2 separate regions of the Homo sapiens genome follow, and region 1 is linked to region 2. The links are contacts of gene promoters, found by promoter capture Hi-C in blood cells and fetal thymus (Javierre and others, 2016). All regions are on one chromosome and are shown on one strand. Each heading gives the region's core, a stretch centred on a gene start or on the middle of the fragment in contact. The rest is flanking DNA. Distances are from core to core; before and after follow the strand shown. Region 1 has its middle 23 kb from the start of NCR2. Region 2 holds the start of UNC5CL (unc-5 family C-terminal like).

Region 1 (7,769 bases), core at 2,202-4,701, 270 kb after region 2:
TTGGCCTATGTCAGCAATGTGACATGTTTCATGAAATGCTATTCATCTGAAGAATCCACGTGTCTGGAAGCCATGCCTCAAGTCTAGAATGACCAAGGCTTAAATTTACATCCAGTGGTGGTGGGAGTGGGACCAGGGCCTCTTCTCTCTTTTTCCTTTAGACTGTAGGACATCTGAAAGAATATCAAAGCAGTTGTCTACTAGTCTTCCCAGGCTTGGAGACACTGCTTCAGTCACCATCAGTTACTTCTATCATTCCAAAGTGTGCACTAAGAATTCCCCTCTATATGCTCCTAATTGTTTTGCTCCATATTTCACAGCTGCCCAAGCAAGTCATGCTCAGAGACCATTTGATTTCAGGAGCTTCTACTGCTCCCGGGACTGAGGACTGACTGCCCAGGGCTTTCCAGAGCCCCCACCACCAAGTCCATTCTGAGTTAAGGGTTAGGAATACTCTGAGCCATTGTTGTGATTGGTCTTCTCAGAGAGATCTCTGGACTGTCACCAGGCACCCTGAGGACACAGGAGAGAGTGACCAGAGTATTGATCACTGGTCATAGGAAGACGGATTTCCTCTTATTGTCCTTGTTCATGGACCCCTGGGCTGAAAGAAAGGAACAGAGACAGAGCAGGAAAGAGGAAGATCAGGAAGCAGGAACAGAGTCAGAGGAAAATTGCAGGCTTGATGGGAAGGGGCAGGCTTGGGGGGCTCTAGAGTTATTGATTTTTCAGCTTGATCAACTTTTACTTGTTAGGATGGAGTGACAATTTTCAAGCTCCTTACTTGCCAGACTGGGAGCTGGAAATCCTATTGTTTTTTACATGCATTTAACTTTAATCAAGTTACCATAACACCTCACTGACTCCAAAATAAGTTTCTATCTCAGCATGGCATTCTTTCTCCACGGACTGACCCACCCACCACTCAACCTTATCACTTCTTATGCTTTTCTAAGAAAATAGCATGGGACCTACAAAAGAGTAAAAAACTGTCAAGATTTTGAAGAATGCTCTATCCATTCCAGCCTTGCAGCCTCAAACATGCAAAAGTCAGCCACACGTGTTTGTTCTGTTGTGTGATTTAACCCTACATGTAGAAATGGAAATGGAAGAGAATATGACATGAGAAAACCAAAGGACATAGCAGTATTATATGTTCCTAAATGAAGCTGAGTTTATGTGTGTGTGTGCAGGAATGTGCCTTCACGTATAGCTCACAGGTATGCATGTGCATTTGTGTACCTATGTGTGTGCGTGTATGTGGGTTAGCATGCATGTGTATATGTGAGTGTGTCTGAGTATTCTTACCCCCAATGCTCCAAACATAACATTGATTAAAGTCCACAGTGAGTGAGCTGAGTTTGTGGGGTCCTCTGTAAAACAGAAGGAAAAATCCATTTTCAACGAGAGAGGGATGTTTGTGAGCTCCCCAAGAACACGCTGGTGGTCCTAGGGCAGCAGGATGGTAACCTCCAGGGTTCTTGACAACAACGGACCAGGGAAGCCAATAAAGGATCTGTCAGTGGTCTCCAGGGCCTGCAGGCAGTGCCTCTGGCAGGCCATGCTCTCTGGTCACTGGGAAGATGGACCCTTGAGAAGGTCACAGCCATCCTCTAGGCTCAGCTCCACCTTGGTGAGTGTCCCATAAGGTCAAGCCACCCTCACGGGATAGAATATGAGCTCTCCAAGCCAATTTCCAAGACCCTTGGGCTCTCCTTTTCTCAGGTACCTCCAGTCCCAGGAGTGGTGGGGGGAAGCAGCAGACCCCAGTATTCTGGCCTGGGAGTCACATAGCCTCTAGAGAGCTCACCAGAGCAGAGTAGTTTAGCAAAAGTCAACTTCCCATTCCCTTCAGGATCAGTTTGCCTATTGAGAAATGTTTCTGGGAAACCTATTTACCAAGTGGAATGGTTTCATACAAAATACTACGGGTATAGCTCTTCTAAAGATTTTTTCAATCCCTTAGGTATCTTTTTCTATTGGATATAATTTTAAGGAGTGCCCACAAATACATTTTGAACTAGTTTTTACTTATTTTTCTACTTACACTAAGTACTTATCCAACTTTTAGTATAACATATGCAAGTTATCAGACTTCATTAACCCTTGTTGAGTGGTCTAGCCTTTTTTGGGGTTAAAAAAATTATTTTCTGGGCCAGGTACAGTGAGTCATACCTGTATCCCAGCACTTTGGGAGGCCGAGGCAGGAGGATCACTTGAGCTCAGGAATTTGAGGCCAGCCTGGGCAACATAGGGAGACTCCATCTTTACAAAAAAAAAAATTAAAAATTAGTCAAGCAAGGTGACACATGCCTGTAGTCCCAGCTACTCAGGAGGCTGAGGTGGGAGGATCAGCTGAACCCAGAAAGTCAAGGCTGCAGTGAACTGTGATTGTGCCACTGCACTCCAGCCTGGGCAACAAAGCAAGACCCTGTCTCAAAAAATATATATTATTTTCTGTATGACATGGCTGTATTAAAAATAAATGAATAAAATGAGGAAAGAAATATATAGATTCATTTACACTTCTACCGTAGTTTTCATGACACCTAAATCACAGTGCCATTGCTGTGGAGTCCCTTGCTTGCATTTATAATCCAACTCGGCCTCTTATGAGCTGCCTGAGTTGAGTGATTTACAAAGCTTCTCTAAGTCTCCATTTCTCAGTTCTAAGTGTTTAGTGGCTCCCTCATTGGGTGTTTTGAAGATTAAATGAACTAACCCTTTCAAAGCACTTACAGCAGAGCCTGGTACACACTAAATAAATACTCAACTAATTCCAATTTAGGAAATACTTATTACCTACTGCTATACATCAAGCACTGTTCTAGGACTGGGGATATGGGAATACAAGGTAAACGAAGACCCTGTCCTCATAGAGCTTCCATTCTCATGGAAGGATGGAGACAAAAAAGTGAGCCATACGTCACATGGGGACAACTGCTACAGAGGGAAAGGGTGGTGGAGAGAGAGAAGGTGCACAGGGTTTGTGCTACAGCAACTCAGATAAGCTGGAACTGCATTTCTGAGGATCCACTTACCTCTATGGCTCTGTGTTGGGTTTGCAAGAGAAACTTTCATGAGATTTGGAAGGCAGAGGTGAAGTGGCAGGTGCGATGTTCTGAAGGTTAGTGTAGGTGCTAGGGTCTCTCAGGTGCATTGTTGCTCAACTCACCTTGTTGACATGGGCAGCACCTGCCTGTAGCTCCTCCTACTCAGCCTCCCTGAGTCCTGCCCAGCACATGTGCAGCTTTGCAGCCAAGCAGCAGAAAAGACAGAAATGAAGGCAGAGAGGCAGAGCTACAAGGTGCTCACAAATACCTATTTTCTTCTCTTCCTAGATGCTCAGGTAGACCCATCTTAGCCCATGCAGTGAGGGCAGAAGTGATGGGCACTGTTCCAGACCTGGCCTATAAACACACCCATGTGCCATACTTTCTCTTTTCTCATCCACTCCTGGAGGCAAAGAACTCTGAAGACCTGGAGGTCAGCAGAGCCACAGGACAGAAAGCCTGGGCCCCTGAATGGTCCTGCGGAGTCACCATCCATTAGACGAGTAAGAAATCAACTTTTACTCTCTGAGATTTGGAACTATACTGTTAAAGGAGCTAAGATTATCTTAGTTAAGATAGGCAGAAATCAAATAAATAGAGAAATATATGTGTGAAAGAGAGAAGAGGGAGTGAAGAAGAAACAAAATAAAATACTGCCCTTGAAAAAAAAAAAAAGAACAAGATATACAAATCTGTAGAAAGACTAATCAAGAGACAAGTTTAAAAGTGCAAAGAGAAAATAAAGAGAACAGGCCAGGCACATTGGCTCACGCCTGTAATCCCAGCACTTTGGGAGGCCGAGGTGGGTGGATCACTTGAGGTCAGGAATTTGAGACCAGCCTGGCCAACATGGTGAAACCCTGTCGCTACTAAAAACACAAAAAATCAGCCAGGCCTGGTGATGCACGCCTGCAATCCCAGCTACTCAGGAGGCTGAGGTGGGAGAATTGCTTGAACCCAAGAGACAGGGGAGGTTACAGTGAGCCAAGATTGCGCCACTGCACTCCAGCCTAGGCAACAGAGTGAGACTCTGTCTCAAAAGAAAAAAAGAAAAGAAAAGAGAACAAATGAGAAATACCTGAACACCCAAAAGAGACTTTCACAATAACAATACTATGAATAATCATACACTAATAAATTGAATAACTTAAATAAAATGGATACATTTCTGGAAGATATAAAATATTAAAATTGGTGTTGAGATTAAAAGCTTGACTAGAGCAACAACAATTCAAAAATCAACATCCAGTCATATAACCATCTCAGCTGCTAGAGAGGTGAGGGGAGGGCAACTTCAGGCACAGAAGAATTTTCAAGGTATAGATATTTCTTAATTCATACAATTTATTCCAGGAAATAGAAAAGAGGGGAGAAGCTGCTCATATAATTTCTGTGGCTAGAACAATATTAATACCAAAACCACACAAGGACCAAATAAGAATAATGGGTTATCAGCCCATTTTTATTTATGATCATAGATTCTGTAATCTAAGATCATCGTTCAGATTCTCAGGGAAAGATGGCAGATGGAACATACACCTTTATTTCTGTTCGCTCCTAAAACCCACAAAAATGAACATAAAGAAATGCAGGAAACATAGGAACGAGGGAAACTAGAAGGTAAAATAGCAAGAAAATTTGGGGAGCTGAAAAAAATATATAAGTAAGTGGGAAATGACTTAGAAGTGAGAAAACAGAACCTTTCATCAGAGTTGAGGAAGGCAGAAGTCAAGTCTTATTTACACAACAGTATTGCCAAGATGGCTGAGAAAGTGGAGGTGGTTTAGGGGAGTCCGATTAAGAAGAAATGGTAGAAAGTTGTTTAAGAAGCAATGAGGAACCCAGATCCCCTTGCCACTTTCTGTAGATGAGCGACCTTGACCCACCTTGGCAGACAACTGGGAATGAATGCCTTAGAGAGGTTGCAAAGAAGGCTGGGTTTCTGTGTGTGGTAGGGAAGGGGTGGGCAATAGGTATAGGTGAGGATGGTGACAATGTCCTGAAAACCATGGGATTATGTGAAGAACATGTACCAGAAGCTGAGAAACACTCCAGCCCTCTTCTCCTATTTGGATTCCAGAAAGTTGGCAGCCAGATCTTCTTCCTCCAGACAAGAGATGGGGTGAGTCTTCCCTGGGGATCCTGAGCAGCCCAAGAGAGAAGGCTGAATGATATTGACAAGGCACTTCCTCAAGCAAATGGCCAAGGAGTCACCCTCCTGTGAAACTCCCAGGGCACCAGCCCCACTGTGGGCTCACAGCATCCAATTATCTTTAGAATTTTGTTACCCAGGCCTGAGAAAAAGCTCTCAAGTGAAAGAGAAGAAAGAAACTAAACAGAGAATAGTGAAGGCAACTGGGAAGAAACAGAGACCACCTAAGGAACCATAAATAAAAACAGAAAACTTTTTCTCCAAGGGCTGTTTCCAAAACAGAGGGAGGCAGAGAGAGAATGAGAACAACAGAGAAATGGGAGAGAAAAAAAAAGAAAAAGACAACTGATCCAGGAGGTGAATGCTTGAATAAAAGGAGTTCTAGAAAGACAGAACATAGAAAACAGAGAGGGGAAAATCATGCATGAACTAATTCAAGAAATTTTCCTGTGAATTTCTAGATCGAAAAGGCCACTCACTGTGCGGAGCAAAGGGATGGAAATAGACACACTCCAAGGCTCATCCCTGTGACATTCCAGGACACCGAGAACAAAAAGAAAACGCTGATAAAGTGAAGACAACAGATCACATATTGCCATAGTTATCATAATTGCTCCTGACTTTTCAACAACAATAGGAGCAAGAAGGTAACATAGCAATGCCTTCAAAATCCTGAGGACAAATTGTTTCCAACTCAGAATTTTTTATATCAGTCAAACTGTCATGGTAAAACAGGCATTTTTAAATATAAAAGTTGTCAAAATGTATTTTCCATTCCCCCTTTCTCCCGTAGTTACTCAAGGATGGGTTCCACCAGTACAAAGGAGTAAACAAAGATCCAAGAATCAAGAAAACGTTGTAGAGGAGACAAAGAGAAGCCCCAGAAACATGAGGAAGAGACAGCTGTGTACCAACTGGTGGAGGCAGTGCATCCATACAGGGCAAAAAAAGGCTGCAGGCATGACTTTTTAGGAAGATGCTCAACAAAATACTTGCTGAGAAAAAAAAAAACAAAACTTAGAAATGCTGGTTCCAAAACATGTGCTTTTGTTTGTTTGTTTTTTCTTGTTCTGACTTTTAATTCATTACACCACTGCTCTCCAAGAAAAGGCTATCAATTATTCCCTTCCAACAATGCATAAGAATGACTTTTTCCCTACTTCTCCAGGACAGAATATAATTATCATTTATTTTAATCTTTTTTGAACTGTTAAAAAGATAAACTGAGGCACAGTAAAATTTTAAAGAGTTTTGGTGAGTTTTTTTTAGCATGAACAATTTATGAACTGAGCAGCTCCGAACCAGAAATAGTTTGGGAGCTCCACTGAGGAACACAAAGAGGAGACTTTTATAAGACAGACACAGAAGTAAAGCAAAGTATTTAATTGGTTACTGTTATACAATTGCTTTTTTTGGTCTCTCAACTTGGAAAGCCCCTCGTTATCTAAGTTTGTATAAATAGTAACTTCTGATTGGTTGAGCTTAAGTTCTGCTTTTAAAAATATATATATAGATATAGATATATATAGGCATTCACAAGAAATAGCTCAAGTTAAGTTTGGTTATGTTTGCAAATCAAGCAAGGTTTAGGTCACTTACAAATCATAACTTCTTTTGTCCCCTCTGGGATTCTTCAGGTCTGGTCTCCATTTTAATTTACTTTAACAATCCCACCGCGTTGGGTCACCCTCTCAGCAAGCTAAGAAGAAGGTGGTAGCATTCCTCTCAGTTACCACTAGTGAAATAGTCACTGGAACAAAGAGTCATGTAATCTTATCCTCAACAGTTGTATTGGGATATAAGATTACATGGCATCATTACCTGCATCATGGGCTTCAGTGGTAGGGTTGTTGAGTTCTTCAAGTCAATTAATGATGATGGCAATCATTTGATGTGTGAGTGCCTTCTGGAAAGCTTTGAAATCCTTGAGAGGATAAGATATAGTAGGATGGTAAACAAAATGACTACAGAGAGAATAATAGCCAAGGATTTTTAAATTCCCTGGAGCACAGATTCCCAGGAGCCAATATTTCACCAATAAAATAAATCAGTGGAGGAGGCAACACCTGTCTGATAAAAGACATATTTGTTCCTTAAGATCCTTTAAATTGGGCTCAACAATTTCTAATTTATTAATATAGAAACAATATTTTTTTTTACAAATAAGAGCCTCCTTGTTAAGTTGCTAAGGTATCAAGGACTTCTATTTTGGAGTACTATTGAGGTTAAATTGTTTATTTCAGATAGTATTGCTTGAAGGGAATTCAAGGTAGCATTCTATAAAAACAAAAGAAAAAAAAAAGGTTAACATTAGGAACAAATTATGATCTTAGTCTTTAAGTCCAGAGAGCAGCCTGTCAAGATTTCTAAATTTGAGTTTGAAGCATTTTTAGATGATGGAATGAGGATGGCAATTGCAACCTGATGGATTTTCCTGGCTTGCAGTTTGAATGTCTCTGGAAATATCATCAGGTGTTCCAGTGAATTCTCCAAGTGACCCACACAGCAGCAGCATGAAAATTTTCCATACATGGTCTGTTGTAGTAATTTTTCTGAATTTAAAG
Region 2 (7,503 bases), core at 4,252-6,751:
ACATTAGGACAGAGGGGCCAGAAAGAGACACCAGGGGATAAAGGATTTGCAGACCATCTTCTATACAGAGAGATGAAGATAAGGCAGACAGAGAAAGTGGGCAGGAAAGACAGTCCTCAGAGAGATGGGTGTGGGAAGACAGGCCAATGGCATGTGCCTACCTGAAGTGGGAGAGGTGGATGCGACACTCATCCCGGGAGGCGTGGGCCCCCGGCCGCCCCAGGGGCCTCCATACCTTGGCATCCAGCAGGGTAGTGTTGCTGCTGTAGGTGCGAGCATGGCTGGGCTGCTCGGCACAGTGTTTGAACGTGAGAGTGCAAGGCTTCAGGAAGGAGGCCCCATGGGGGCCACATGCCACCACAGGGCTTACCAGCCCCTGGGCTTGGGACAGCGATGGGGCGTCCGACAGGTCCCACACCAGGATCAAAGACACCCGCTCCTGGCGGCCCACAGCCACAGCACCTGGCAGGGAGAGGGAGAGCTGAGATGGGCCTGGTAGGCAGGCACACCCCTGCCCCTGAAAGAGGCCAGGCCAGAGAGAAAGGAGGTGGGGCAGGAGCCCAGGAGAGACCCCCAGCAGGGCACACAGGGAAGTGGTATGAACAAGAGTAAGACGACTGTGGAGCTGACTTGTAGTGTAACCCTAAGCAAGACACTTCCCTTTCCACCCAGGCTGCTGCTAGCCCATAGTGTGCCTTGTGTGAATTTGCAAATGGTGCTCTTCCCTCCCTTTACTAGAGAATTGTCACAGCATACTGATTCATTAGAACAAGGCACTTTACTTCCACCTGCCAGGAAGTTGTCCCAAAAGATATGTAATATGTCCATCCCTGAAGTCAATAAAGCTATACTCAAAATATAAACAATTATCAGAAGTAAAAGGTGTCTATGAACATTGCTCCCTCAGATGTGGTGACCTAATGTACAGTCTGACCAACTGTATGCGGAGATGAGAGCCAGGAGCTGTTACCTGGTGGGATGAGCAAGGAGATGCCTGTATCCTGGAGCATCAGGCAACCGCCGCGGTGATCCACCTCTCGAGCCGAAAACACCAACAGTTTGTGCATCAACTGGCGGACCATGGTCTGGCCTTGAGTGGGTGTGTGTAGCTCCTGGTAGAAGGCAACCATCTCTGGCAGTGTGGCTGGCAGGTGCTGCCTTGAGACCTCATTTTCTAGTTGGGGGGTAGGCTGGGACACTGGTTCCTCTTGACCATTCAGTGTCCAGCAGGCCCCCAGCAGCCTTCTAGGGCAGTGCCATCGAAGGCATTGGGCCAGAAGGAGGACACTTGCCACTGGGACCCCCACCAGCAGTAGGAACTGGGAGGGTTGGAATGAACTCTCCTGGGGGCACATTCGCCTGGTTACTCAATGCCGCTGGCTCTCCTTCACCCCTGTGCCAGCCAAAGCCAAAGGCCTGGTGGGGAAGAAGGGGTCAGTGTCAGGGTAAGCCCTTTTAAGTTGTGGAGGTCAAGGCTTGGCTTACACATAGCTGCAAGTTGTCTTCATTCCAGCGCACACTGCACACTTTAGTCACACCAATTCTTTTAACCTGTCTCTCTTACTCGAGAACCTACCCTGGCTCCCCGTGACCTAATACATCAAGGTAAACTGTTCTGAAGCAGAGTGAGCTTGGGTTTACAGTTAGAGAACATGAGTTCAAATGTCACCTTGGTCACTGTGGCTGGGTAAACTTATCATATTGATGTAAGGCAGGAGAGCCCCAAAATTGGGGCTTAGTTTGGGAGGGTTTGTGGCTTCACCTAGGCAAGAATTCAAGGGTGAGCCAGTGGTGTCAGACAGCAACTTTCACTAAAGTGGCAGAGTATAGCAGCAGCAGAGGTATGCTCCTTACAGAGCAGAGCTAACCCTAGGCAGTGTGCCCAGGGTAGCAGCTCTGGGGCATTTCTGCCATCATATTTATGTCCACTTTTAATTACATGCAGTAAGGGGTGGGTTATTCAGAAATTTCTAGAAAAAGGAGTGGTAGCTTCGGGTCACTGCCATGGAAAGGGGCAGTAACTTCCAGGCATCGCCATGGCAGTGGTAAACTGTCATGGCACTGGTGGGCATGTCTTATGGAGAGGTGCTTTTGGTGCCTTTTCCCTGTTTCAGCCAGTTTTCTATCTGGCCTGGAATCAAATCCCACCTCCTGCCTCAATACTGCTTAATGTACCTCAGTTTCCTCATCTGTCCAAATATCTACCTTGATCTACAAGTGCTGATACAAAAAAATCTATAAGTGGAAAAAGCAAGTCGCAGAGAGATAAAATATTCTGAGCTCATTAATGTGAAAAACAAAACTGCATATAAATAGATACATATTTATGGGTGCATATATGGAAATGTAAAGGTATAGAGAAAGGTCTGGAGCAGTGGTGTACAATAAAAATGTAATGTGAACTACACATGTAATTTTAAATTTCCTGATGGCCACATTAAAAAGAACAGGAGAAATTAATACATTTTATTTAACCCAATATATTCAAAATGTTATTTCAACAGGTAATCGATATAAAATTATGAGATATTTTTACTTTCTTCCTTCATACCCAGTCTTTGAAATCCATGTGTAATTTATATGAACAGAACAGCTCACTTGGGACTGGCTGTATTTCAAGTGCCCAGTAGCCACGTGTACTAATGAATCCGGTCTTAGACTGTGCAGGTCTGGAAGGACACACCCCCAAACTATTCCCATGAGTCACAACAAATTGAGAAGGTGGAAGGTGTGAATAAAAACTTTGTATTTTTTTAAATCCTTTTCTCTGTACTTTGAATTTTTCACATCAAGCATGTAGTTTGTATTAACTTTGTAATTCTTTTCTGAAGCTATTAAAAGTGGGGAAAAAGTGCCTCTTTGTGTAATGGTGAGGATGGCATAAGGTCATGTGAAAAGTATTTGTAGATGAGAAAGCACTGTCCAAATGTATGTGTTTCTTTATGCCCCTCCTTCTGCCAGAAAGGCCTGAAGGTAGCTCACAGGGATAGGCAACATACAACAAGAACAACAAAAGCTAAAAGTGGAAGCAAAAAAAAAAAAAAATGAAGAAGACAAAACACAAAGATGCAGCCCTACAGTGAAGCTGGAATGAGGCAGGGCAAAAGCATACACTCACCTCCTGCTCACCTGGCTACCCAGCCAGGCCACAGGCTGAGACTTCCCAGTAGCTCTTCCTGAGGCCCTCCAGAACCCACCTCCGCCTCCTCCTACTTCCCCTCTTCCAGCCCCTACAATTTCCAACACGCCTGCCCTGTAGCCTGCCCAGGCTCCCCACACCTGCTTAATTCTAGCCTCTGGCTTTTGCTCATGCTGTTTTCTGTTTCTCCACTCACTTGCTCTCCCCACTTGTTTCCTCTCCCTACGTGGATCCTCCCATTCAATAGTGCCTCCCGCTGGTGCACCGGCCTTTGACAGCCTCCAGCTCGCGAAATCTCTCTCCACAGCCATCCCACCATACTGAGTCACTCTTGATTATGTGCTGTCATGTGTGATTTTCCCACTCAAATGAACATTTTCTAAGCACCGGCTGTGTATCGGACACTGTGGGAAGTTCAATCCTGCCAAAGATGACGTCTTATTCCGCTCTCAAGGAGCTTCTGCAGGAATGGAATTCATTGGCTTGGTAGCTGAGTTCTGTGAGGCACAACGTCCTCCTTCAGAGCCCTGGGAGGCCCCTCTGGTTGACTCACTAGAGGCTGCACTGGAAGAGCTTCCAGTATCCAGTCCTCCCCACGCCCTTCACTTGCACTACCCACCTGGAACTGAGGCTTGGCCCACCTTCTTCCTTCCAACCTCAGGACCCATGAAAACTGAAGCCCCTTCCTAGTGCCTCTTAGACCAGGGCAGAACCTCCACTGTATCCTCAGGATTGAAGACTGGGGCAGTACCTGTTTCTCCCATGTCCTCACTGAAAGTGTGAATAAGAAGCGGGGGTTGGCATTGTTCTCTTTGCCTAAAGAGCCAACCCAGCAGACAATGCACCAGCCTTTTTCAACCAGGCATCCTGGAGGGCACACAGGTGAATCAGTGAATTGGCAGTGTCCCAAAGCTGATGGGAAGGGGGTTGGAGCAGCAAGCTACCGTTGATGTCCCATCATTTCTTTTGGTTCTTTCACATTAGTAATAATTATAATTCCAACTGTAATAACAATAGCTAACATTCGCAGAGCTTTACTCAATGCCACTGTGTTAAAGCACTCTCCATGGCTTGTCTCATCTCATCCTCACAGCAGCCTTAGGAGCGAGGTGTTATTTTTATCTCCATTTCACAGATAAGGAATCCGAGCTTTCTCCCCACAGTGAAGATGGATAGGGAATTACTAAACAACTGAAGACAGGCAGGAAGGAGGAGCAAAGACGAACAAGGACTTCCAGAGATACCCCCTTTCTCTCTCCACCCCTTCTTTTCCCCAAGTATCTTCCTTTCCTTCTCTAGAAGAAATAAAGTTGGAAGAGAAAGAAGCAAAAATGAAGTAAAGACAAATAGAAGGACCTAAATTTACATCCTCAGTTATGTGGTAATACCCACCCCACTACACCACACCCCCACCTACCAAGGTACCAGTGGCAGGGGATGGAATTGCTAAAGGGATGAAAGGAGGGGCCCCAGCTCGCTTACACAGCAGTAACCTTCCTGGGGCCACCAAAGACCAGAGTCCAGATCCCCAGTGAGGTGCACCTCACTGGGTGGTGCAGTAGAGTCCCCTGGCTCAACCTCCGACCCTGGAGAAGTTGGCATGCACCACTCCCAAAGCCCCACTGGGCCTCTCCCAGGGTGACTGCTCTTCCAGGCTGCCCTGGCCCTCACTGCATCCTCCCTCTGGCTCCAGAATGGGGAAAGGTCCGGAGTCTTGCTGAATGGCAACTATAGCACTGCAGCCATTCGAGTGTGACTTGGGGCATCCCAACCCCATGCCTGGACTCCTCATTACCCACTCCTCCAGTCTGTCTTGCTCCAGACCCCAGATCACCCTGGGTAGCGGGTCCCCGAAACGAGAGTCCTTTAGAATGCTGCCATCACCTGTCCCTAGGCAGTTGCATCCTCCAGCACAAAGATCCAAACTCCTGCTGCAAAGTTCTGCTCATACCCTTTAAGAAAACTCTCAACCTTTCCTCCACCTCACTGGTTCTCCCTGTGCCTCCCCAACACCTGATAGATGTCCAGTTACTGCAGAACATAACAAGTACTGGGATGGATGGTCCAAACCCAAGTCATGAATGGCATTTGTTAGTATAGTAGACATTTCCGCAGGACACAGAATCATCCCAGTGGTCCTCATACCCATTGGCCAAGTCCCATTTTCCTCCCCTCCTCCAGCAGAGGGTCCCTACACTCCAGCAGGCAGGCTAAGCTGGCCTGGCTCCTCCCCCGAAGCTCCAGGTAACCCCATCACAATGCCCATCCCCTCTCCAGCTGCCCCAAGGGGGTGCTCAACTTACCGTCTAGGAGCTCTTAGAGGCTGCTGGCTGGTCCAGTTCCTTCTCCGAGAAACAAGGGTCAGCCAGATTCAGTCGGCAGGCCAGCAGACAAGTGGAGGTGGGCGGGGAATCCAGGCAGGAGTGGCCTGGCATTTCCTGGCAGAGCCCTGCCTCCCAGCTGTCTAAAGAGGGGTGAGGGAGAGTGTCCCTGTCTATTGGCAAAGTCCAGCCCAGGTAAGGGATTAGCTGAGGATCCCAGAAGTCAGTGAACTTTCCAGTCTAGGTCTGGAAGGAAGGAGGGAGGCAGGGAGACAACCTGGGTGTAGGTGCTGCACCTTGAAACCCCTCCTTACAGTGCCCTCTGCTGGTGAGTGGCTGTCCCCAGCCAGAGGCTATTATTAAAATAGCAGATAGGAGGAGGAGGGAACCTTCATCTGAGTTTCTTAAACTATAATGTGCACAACAGTCACCTGGGAGATCTTGTTAAAATGCAGGCTCTGATTCTGTAGGTCTAGTATGGGGCCTGAGATTCTGCAGCTCAAAGAAGCTCCCAGCTGATGCCAATGCAACCGGTCCAAGGAGCTTAGAGAGCATCTAGTTCCACCCGCTCCCCACACAGAGAAGACAGTGGAGCCACTGAGACGGTTAATGACTCACCAGTTGCTGGTGGACCTGAGATGTACCCATATTTTTCCTTACACAAGGTGCTTTCTACTTCCCCCACCCAAAGTTGGCAGAGACACTGCCGGTTGGGAGACAACTGAACTTTGGGGCCATTTGCCATTCTGAGTTCTTAAAACTCTGCCTAGGAGCGGTGGCACCACAAGAATGAAAACTCCTTGTGGAACTTTTCCCATGTTTTCGGCTGTCTCCTCAGCTCCTGGTACAGCCTGATAGATAGAAGGTGTTCAATAAACATGTCTTGAATGAATGAGTGAAGCAGTTGAGAGGGAAAAGGATGCATTTTGGCTCCAACTGGCCAACACTGAGCCCAGGTGAGCCACACGTTGGGTATGTAATATTGGGCAAGCTACTTAACTCCTCTGAACCTCAATTCCCTTGTCTGTCAAATGCAGTTAAGAATATCTACCTTGTGTGAGATAATAATTGTCATTATTGAGCTAATAAATGTCAAATGCCCACCACAGAATGGGTGGTCAATAGATGGTAACCGTTGTCACCAGGGTCTGGCCTCCTGCAGTTGAGGAGGCATGGTGAACGCCCCCCCAGGCCCCTAGTTATCATCTCCCATAGAAAATAAGTAACTTCCTCTGCTTTTGTCTCAGTTAATAATTCTCTAGCCTCTTGTCTCTGACTGCAATGCCCTCCCCTCTGCTTCCTTCCCTGGTGGAGGTGAGAGGGTGGAATAAACCTCCCAGGGGAGCCCAGTACCCCAAAGTGCAGAGATGGTAGAGAGCGGGCAACCTGGGAAGCAGACCTCATGCCTAAAGACAAGCCAGGAAGGGGTGCTCAGAACTTTGATAGGGAATGAAAGGAGTGGGGTAGGGGTGTTTGTCTTTGTTGAACAAAGCTCTGTCTGAGTCACACAGGAGGCTGGACTTTGCCAACAGACAGGGACACTCTCCCCTACCCCTCTTTAGGGCGGCTGGGAGGCAGGACTTTCTGCCAGGAAGCGCCAGGTCACTCCTCCTTGACTCCCCACCCACCTCCACTTGTCAGCTGCCTTCTCCTCTGAGTCATAAAGTCCTAGGGGTTTGTGAAAGATCTGTCAAGCTAGGGTTCTAAGCCAGGAAGGTCATGCCAACCAGGAGGCTATAACCAGGGGCTGTGTTCATGGATTATGAACTCACTTCCCAAGCTAGTTCTTGCCACTCTTGGGGACAATCCCAATTATAAGGAGGCTCTGAAGAAATGTGAAGGCTCCTACCACTCACTCCCATGGCCACAGAGCTGGTTCATGGGATGCAAAGACCACAGGCATCAACAGCATTATAACTGGGGGCTGAGCTGTCACAGGAGGGCCAGTGTCAAACCCTCACCACAAGCCCTCAAACATTCCATCAAGGGGTAGCCTCCAGAGGCCAGGCACCAAGGAGGGTCTGGCAGACCAGAGGGGCTCCT

The links. The method cuts DNA at HindIII sites, captures the fragments that hold promoters and counts their contacts. A CHiCAGO score of 5 or more calls a contact.
Region 1: a fragment that was not itself captured here is called in contact with the fragment with the promoter of UNC5CL in region 2 in 1 of 17 cell types (neutrophils); the score reaches 10.0 in neutrophils.

Annotation. Positions count from the first base shown.
Region 1 is chr6:41,308,743-41,316,511 of GRCh38, forward strand. No RefSeq gene overlaps it. Among named protein-coding and RNA genes, the nearest start is that of NCR2, 23 kb to the right of the region's middle. The HindIII fragment of the contact is 1,620 bases long and covers 2,642-4,261 here.
Region 2 is chr6:41,033,720-41,041,222 of GRCh38, forward strand. UNC5CL (unc-5 family C-terminal like) reads right to left here and starts at 5,502. Exons shown (of 9, transcript NM_173561.3): 1 at 5,443-5,502; 2 at 971-1,416; 3 at 162-462. The coding sequence starts at 1,355. The HindIII fragment of the contact is 17,483 bases long and covers 1-7,503 here.